Regions from separate parts of the Homo sapiens genome. Here region 2 is linked to region 1. The links are contacts of gene promoters, found by promoter capture Hi-C in blood cells and fetal thymus (Javierre and others, 2016). All regions are on one chromosome and are shown on one strand. The core of a region is centred on a gene start or on the middle of the fragment in contact, and the rest is flanking DNA. Distances in the headings are between cores, read along the strand shown. Region 1 holds the start of NCK2 (NCK adaptor protein 2). Region 2 overlaps LIMS1 (LIM zinc finger domain containing 1).

Evidence for each region. The method cuts DNA at HindIII sites, captures the fragments that hold promoters and counts their contacts. A CHiCAGO score of 5 or more calls a contact.
Region 2: a fragment that was not itself captured here is called in contact with the fragment with the promoter of NCK2 in region 1 in 1 of 17 cell types (activated CD4 T cells); the score reaches 5.1 in activated CD4 T cells.

What each region holds. Positions count from the first base shown.
Region 1 is chr2:105,742,889-105,746,906 of GRCh38, reverse strand. It overlaps NCK2 (NCK adaptor protein 2), which reads right to left and starts at 1,995. Exons shown (of 5, transcript NM_003581.5): 1 at 1,769-1,995. RefSeq lists enhancers at 685-734, 835-904 and silencers at 1,275-1,664, 1,775-1,834, 2,025-2,344. The HindIII fragment of the contact is 4,864 bases long and covers 358-4,018 here.
Region 2 is chr2:108,618,741-108,622,696 of GRCh38, reverse strand. All of the region lies in intron 1 of LIMS1 (LIM zinc finger domain containing 1), which reads right to left. Among named protein-coding and RNA genes, the nearest start is that of LIMS1-AS1, 58 kb to the left of the region's middle. The HindIII fragment of the contact is 4,794 bases long and covers 308-3,956 here.

The DNA of each region.
Region 1 (4,018 bases), core at 746-3,245:
GAAGTGGGCCAGGCACCTCCACAGCTTCCTATGCCTAAAGTTCTCCATTTCAGCCTCAAGTAGCCGCCAGAAGACCACTAAGATTCCGCCACCTTCTCCAATCAAAACTACATCTAACCAACCTCCAGGGCAGAATATACTGAGGTAGGATTTTCCCTCGTGTTCACTTCTTCACAAGCAGGTTAACACTTGCTTCTCAGGAAACCCCTGTTCCAAACGTCAAAAAACCTCCATGTCTAGCCCAATCTCCAGGTGAAGTCAATTTCTTCTCCACGTGTCCGATGACTGCCATTCTCTTTACGTAAAACTCGCAAGGCTTGAATCCTGTTACTAATTCACCTGCTTATCTATGAAGCTTGCAAAGTGAATTGAGGGAGTGTTCACACGCACAGTTCCGTTTTGGTAAGTTAAAGCGGCCCAGGTTAATTTCATTTTCAGTCACTTTTGAGACTTGATAACTACATCTAAAACAGAGGCATGAAAAACACCCTGAATCACTTTCATTCCTACACAAAATCCCTTCCGAGAAGCGGGGACTGCGCCTGGGCCAGGAAGGGACTCCCCTACCTGTAGGTCCCAGCAAGCCACGCCCACCGGCCTCTCAGGGTTGTTTCTTTCTGGGTCGAGGGACGGAGCTGGCCCTTGCGATATTTTAGGCCCCCTCCTGCCCACACTGGGGCCTGCTCATCCCATTATGCAGATGCAAACTTGGCAGAAGCAGCCTTAAACCTGTTGGCAAAATAAACAAAGCCAAATAAAGAGGAATCTGCCAACCTGAATTGTGTGAAGTGGCCAAGGCCGACTCCACGCACGCTCGGCTTTGTCCCTGAAGCTGTTACAATACTAGTTTAAGTCAGGTGCCTGGGGTCCACCAGCCAATGACCCCTAGCATCCACCGCAGACCTTCACAGAGATCCCCATTGTCTACAAATTAAAGCGTTTTGCAAATTAAACCCCTCCACACAATGCCAAGCTAACTGTGCTCATAAGGCAGTTACCCTCCATGCCTTAAAACTCACATATCAAATTTTTCCAAAAGCACTCGGTGATTAAATCGCCCTGAAAAAAACCGAGAGAGCCGAGCGATTGTGAGAAACTTTGGTTCATTCAGGTGGCTGTTAGAGTCCTGTAAATCTGGGGCAGGGCGCAGAGCCTGAAGCCGGGCACAAAAGCTCCCTTCGCCGAAGCGAGGACCTCCTTTATGCAATGTGACAGCAGCTTTGTGCGCGAACATAAATAGTTGTAATAAACACGGTTAAGTTCTCCCGGCCGATCGCGGCCTCCCCCGTCCCTGCGCCGGGGCCCTGCGATCCGCGGCTATTCTTCCCCGGCACACGCGCCCTGGCGACCCTGGCCACCGCACGGTCCCACGCTAGCCCCGAGCTCCGTGCCGGCCGCCCGCCTGCAGGCCAGGCGCAGCCTGCGCACCCGGGGGTCTCCAGTCCCCGGGCCCCGCAGCCGGGCCCCCTGCCCTGATCCTCGCCCGCGCCCTTGGCTGGCGTCCCCGCCCCTGGGCCGGCCCCCGATGGTGGGGGTTAGGGATGGGAAGGCGGGCAGGAAGGTGCAGAGCCGGGAGGTGCCCGGCAGTCCGCGGTCGGGGGCGCCCAGGCCGCGGCAGGGCCGAGAGCACCGGAGGGGCGCGGAGGGGACCCGCTCTCCTGGCCCCTTCCCGGGCGCACCCCGGCCCGCGAGCCCCGCCGCGCTCCCAACTCCGCCCAACGGCCCCAAGTTTGTGGCCCCCGCCCCACGCCCGCCTAGCCGCGCTTACCTCGCCGTGGGCCGCCCGCGGAGCCGGAGGGCAGCGGCGCGGGTCCCGGGGCGGTGGCCGCGCTGCGCCCGCCCAGGCGCCGCTCTTTGTCTGCGCCGCTCCCTCCTCCCGCCGCCGGGCGGACGCTGCCGGCCCGGGCGGACCCTGCCGGCCCGGGCGCCGCGAGCCTCCCGGCCGCCAAGCCCTCCCCTCCGCCCGCCGCCCGCTCGGCCGCGCGGCTCCGGCCTGACGATCCCCGCGGCAGCGGCGGCGGCGGCGGCGGCGGCGGCGGCGACCCTCCCCCGGCGCGCAGCGCCCGCCTCCTCCGCGCTCTTCCTCCTCCTCCCGCGCTCCTCCCCGGCCGCGCCGTGACGCCGCCCAGGGGCCGGCCCAGGCCCGGGCGCGCGGGGCGGGGACCCGAGACCCACCTGGGGCGCCCCCCGTCGTCGCCAGGCTCCGCGCCCGGGTCCCGGTACGGGCGCCGGGATAGCGCGGGGCTGCGGGACGCTCCGCTCTGGAGGCGCAGCACGGGCCGGGCGCCGGGGGCAGGAAAGGGTCCCCACGCCCGAAATTGCGTGCGGGCGGTGGGGGGCAGGGTAGGTGGGTGGGGAGGAGAGTGAAAACACAGACGGCAACTTCCAGCCTGGGATGACTGCCGGGTGGGCTTTGCGTCCTCTTTTTTGTTTGTTCGTTGTTCTTATCACGAAGCTCTAGTTGCTGGGCAGCCGCCCCCCTCCCGGAAGCATTCCCACGGCACTCAGCTAAGCAGGCCTGTTGTCCATCAGAAAAGTGACTTAAATAAAAATGTCACTTCCTCCCTGTAATTGCTTGTGGGCATTTTTATTTATTTGCTTTGCATCTATTTACTTTCCCAACCAGACACATTTTTAGTCCATCATCCCTGTCCGAGGCACTTCCTAAAAGAAGAAGAAACTCGACCTCTGTTGCCTCCCAGGCATCCAGGCCAGCCCCAGCCTGTGGAATCCTGGTTGCACACCCGTGGGGGCAGAACCCGAAGAGGAGCTGCCCGAATGTGCCCCTAGAAGGAGTGTCGCTAATGATGGGACCGTTCAGCTCACCCAGCCTCGAGTTGTGGCTAGCCTATAAACAAACTTGGAAGATGAAAACCCAAGAGCAAGGGGAAAGACACAAGTTTCCCTTTCACAGACACATGCATCCGGATGTCTTTTCTCCTCCCCATATGGTTTCCCAAAGGAAATCCTAATATTCAAATGATTCTGATTTCCTGGCAGGATAGCCTGCATCCATGTTAATGAGATTCTTTCTTAGGCTCCTGGTCTCTGCTTACTATTAAGGCAATAATAATTTACCCAAGGTTACAAGGCTGTATTATTTGATTCACTCATCTCCTGCTTCCTTCCAGAAGGGAAGTACCCAAGGATAGGTAACTAGAGTCAGCGTAGCTTTGAAGTCAGACAGGTGAGTGTTTGACTGTTGACTTCCTGAACTGTGTAACGTTGCACAGGTGGTCCTCAGCCTTTCTAAAATCTGTCATATGGGGAGATAATATTTACTTACCTCCTATGTGAAGTACCCTGGCAGTAGGTAGCCCTCAATAGCTCAGTAAGTGGAAGGAAGCACAGTACACTGAGCAGGAATCAGGTACAAGCTCAGGGAATCAGAACAGCCTCATTTTTCCTTGTTTTGACCTTGTGAAAGAAGCTACTTCAGTTCATCCTTTTGTGCAAGTTTTGTGTTACTAATATCTAGCTTTACAATAAGAAAAGAAGAATTCTAGTCATCAGTCTGCCCAATTTTAGATTAATTTACTCAAAATAAGTATAGCAATATTGACCCAGTTTGTAGCTTGTTTGCTTTGTAAACTTTCACTGAATCGTGGTTCTTGCATGCCTCTTCTTTCTCTGATTCTTTAGAAGTCACCGATGTCATTCTCTATCTAAATCCAGTGGCCCTTTATCAATCTTTATCCTGTGGAGTTTTCTGAAATATGTGGCATTTCTGCTATTTCCTGAAACACCATCATCTTTTCATTCATCAAACACAGCCAGTTCTGATTCTCTTACCTTTCTGACCTGCCCATCTGCCTCCTCTAGAGAGGTTGTTGTCTTCCCACCCTGTAAAAGTGATATCCCCAAGGCAGATGGTGGCCCTTTGTTTTTATTCTGATACGCACCTTTTTTTTTTAAAGAGAGAGTTGATTGTTTTTTGTACACTCCCTGTCTAAACCTTCATTGATTAACCCCCAGACCTGTAGCCTTAGAGAGCTCCCCTGCTAATCTGCAGAGCTCC
Region 2 (3,956 bases), core at 1,455-3,954, 2.9 Mb before region 1:
GTTAGCAATATAGAGCTCAATATTTTCACTAACCTCACATACAAACTTCTTAACAATTTAAACTCTGAGACTTTTAAATTGTTTAATCCAGTCAATTCAAAGTTAATACATTAAATGTAGCTAAGAGACACCTGACATAGTAAGCGATAAGTTCTAATAATGTTAGTGTCAATAATAGTCCTTTAATGCTACCCTCTTCAAAAATTGGTGAGTCAACAATTTTAAAATAAATGTTTCTTTAGCAAATTACAGTTACTGTAGTATAGCTGTCTGTGACAAATACAAATTTAATAGAGAAGTTGAAGCTTGTCAATTTGTCCTTGTTACATTTAAATAGAGAATTTAAAATAAACTCTGGAAGTTAGTTTGTAGGAAAAAGAACAATAGTACACAAAGTATAGATAGCCTTCCCGCCATCTAATCAGAATATTCAAACACTTAAATCAAGACCTCCAAATTAAAGTACTAAACAGTAAATGTAATTTAAAAAAAGGAAGTCTCTCTTTACTGCAGCCTTCTGTCATCAGTAAAACAGGAACATCCCAGGAACAGGGAAAATCTAAACCCTTCAGTTAATGCAGTATTTTAACACATAGGCTTAATGTTGTAGAGGCTTTCAGAACCTCAAATCTAAGAAATTTTCAGTAGTTGCAACAAAAAAATAAAATTGTGTTGTTTTAGGGAAATTCACTTTGAAAGCCAAGAACTCTAACCTTTTTAGTTAAAAAGGTTTCCAGGTTTTTGATGTCCTTCCTTCCTAGGCTACATTGAATAGTTCCACTGCATTCCTTTGTTACACCATTTCAGTAACAATCTCCATGGCACCCCTCCCCCAACCCCAAACCACCACAAACTACCCACCTTCATCAAAACACAGACAAAAACATGTTCCAATCAGCCAAAGAAAACTCTCTTTAAACTAAGTGGAAAAATCAGTTGTTTTCAATTTAAAATATTTCTGGTGATTATATAATTTTTAAAGACATAACAACACTGTAGGTTTGGAGAAGGGGTAAAACAACTTAAAGGATTTGTGAAGAAATGGGCAAAAGTATTCTGGTTTTGCACAGTTCCAATCAGTACAATCTTGATATTGTGTTCAGTTTTTAATTACAGACTAAGAGGCTACTTTTCAATGAGTACTTCCCAACGCTGCATCCACTTAGGCATGAATCCCCACTGCACTTACTAGATTAGATGTCTTGACCTTTAGCCAACCATGACTTTGCACTCACCTTAGCTCTTCCTCTGGTAACCCATTTACTCTCAAACTATCGGGGCGATCTCGTCTTCTCCTGTAGAGACCTGAATGTGAAAGCTCTTTAAGCTGTAATGCAGTCATACTTCTCTCCACACATCAATTGCTGACACTTTAAAGCATTTATGCTCAGCAGTGTGGCTGCCAGGGGAAAGCAGCGTCCCTTGCCGAGGGACCTCAGCACACCTGACTCAGCCTTAGAAACCTCCAGGCAGACCAAGCTGCTGAAGCACAGCTTCCTGTTTCTCACTGGTACACACCCTCCTCAGCAAGGCACAACTTGCCTTATCTCTGGGCCTCGCACCTTGGGGAGGGGGGAAGCGGTGACCAAGAAGGCAGGTTACTTACTTGTTTATTAATAAGCAAAATTTAATTGTTATGAATAATCACACCAATTCCTTTAAAAACCTTGCCAGGACCACTCTGAACTAAAATTGGGCTAAAAAGCTCCAGTAAGGTAGTCGCTAAAGAAGGGTCCTGCTGTTTTATTTGCCAGGAAATCCATCAACACTTCACAGGCAGTTGTCAGTTTAAAGAACCGCCTGGTTATAGTGAGCTCCTTAGGGACATTTTCCTTAAAAAGGAGAGGAGGGGCAGAATTCTAAAGGGAAGCAGTCCAATTCCTCCCCCTTACCACTCCACTCTAAATCCTCTTCAGAAGGGAAGGAAGTGTCTTTGGTCCACCCACCCCTCATTAAATATTACTGAAGAATTCATAACTGAAAGGAAGATGGTTTCTTCCTTCATTCATTGTAATTACTGGCTGTGAATAATGCCCTCTCGTAGGAAAGGCCACCCCGGCTGACACAATGCTGTTGGCTTTAAGGTGGAATGGGTCCTATATACCCTGTATTTATCTGTACATTTGACCTCGGAAAGTGACAATGTTAGGAAGGTTTTGGGTGTGGGGATGTGTACAACAGAGGACAGGTTTGGGGAAAGTCCTTCGTCATCCAGCTCAAAGTGATGCTACCCAACAGCAGGCACAGCACGGCCCTCCAATCCACTTCAGTCCCACTGGGAACACAGGACCACACCACAAATACAGGCTACCTCCCAGCAAGATCTTAGCCAGTAGTTTGACTAAATGGTTCTAGGAATTTTTCTCTGGGCAATTTATACCAGCCTCTTTTCCTTTTAGAACCTTCTCGACAAGAACACAGAGAAATGGGTCTGATAATATTTTTACACTAAGAGCTAGAGAGTTATTCCCATCTCTGAGAGAATCTGCTCTATATATACAAAAATTAAGGCAACCCATAGGAAAGGGAAGTCTACATCTTATTCCTTCACTTAGGACACAGATGCTAGTTCCCCTGAGGGCTACCATTTGTTACGCTAGGTCCACGGCCCCAGGAAAAACAAATGACTTTTCATAATTGCCATTCAAACACAGCATATGTTTTTAAAGATGCAGGGAAAAAATTTACCATTTTTGTCACTACACTAGATTTAATGAGTGATGAAACACGTTTTAAAAAATCAGTTGACAGTTACATCTGTCTCCGGGAGGGTATACAAAAAACCGGTAATACTGGCTGCTTCTGAGGGACCTGGGGAGACAGAAGCAGAAGGAAGCATTTCCACTACACACACCACTCTACACCTTCTGAACTTTGAATATATTGCCACTCAAAAACAAATAGAATGTAGAAGATTTAAATACCAAACAATTTAGTTTACAGTAATAGAAACATTTCAATTTAGAACTCCTGAAGTATCCAATTCTTTTTGTTTTGTTTTGTTTTGTTTTTTGAGACAGAGTCTCCCTCTGTCACCCAGGCTAGAGTGCAGTGGCATAATCTCGGCTCACTGTAACCTCCGCCTCCCGGGTTCAAGTGATTCTCGTGCCTCAGCCTCCCCAGTAGCTGGGATTACAGGTTTGCGCCACCACGCCCAGCTAATTTTTGAATTTTTAGTAGAGATGGGGTTTTGCCATGTTGGCCAGGCTGGTCTCGAACTCCAAGCCTCAAGTGATCGAACTGCCTCGGCCTCCCAAATTGCTGGGATTACAGGCGTGTGCCACCGTGCCCAGCCTTCGTTTTTTAAAATCAAGACAAGTTAAAAAAAAAAAAAAAGAACAGAAACAACCACTAATCTTCCTTGTTTTCCCCCACCATCAACACAGAATAGACGCCTAATGAATAAAACACAAATCAATTGTATATTCATTGTAAATACAGAAATCCCAACATTAAATATGACCTGTCTCCATAGGAAATGTAAATAATTGCTTATTTTTAAAAGAGTTTTTAAAAATTAATGCAGCTTGCTGACAAGGGAAAACAACTTGGTGACTACTAAAGGTTAACCAGACAGGAAACACCTAACTGTGTAGGATGAATCCTGCATTTGATGAGACTAGTGTTAAAAGGATGTGCAGGGGGTTAGACGGGGCGGGGGAGAGCAGTAACAGGGACAGTTACCAAGCCATAAAACAAACGAGCTGAAACAATTCTTGCCCTCTGACTTTTAAAAAGGCTGTACTGACAAACAGGAACTTCAGCAAATCAATGCTTATGTTCTGATGAAACTGCCACAGCTGAGTAAAATTAAATTCTGGGCCTTTGGGGAAGGCCTTTTTAACCAGGATCTTTTTTTTTTTTTTTTTTTTTGAGACGGAGTCTTGCTCTGTCGCCAGGCTGGAGTGCAGTGGCACGATCTCAGCTCACTGCAACCTCCACCTCCCGAGTTCAAG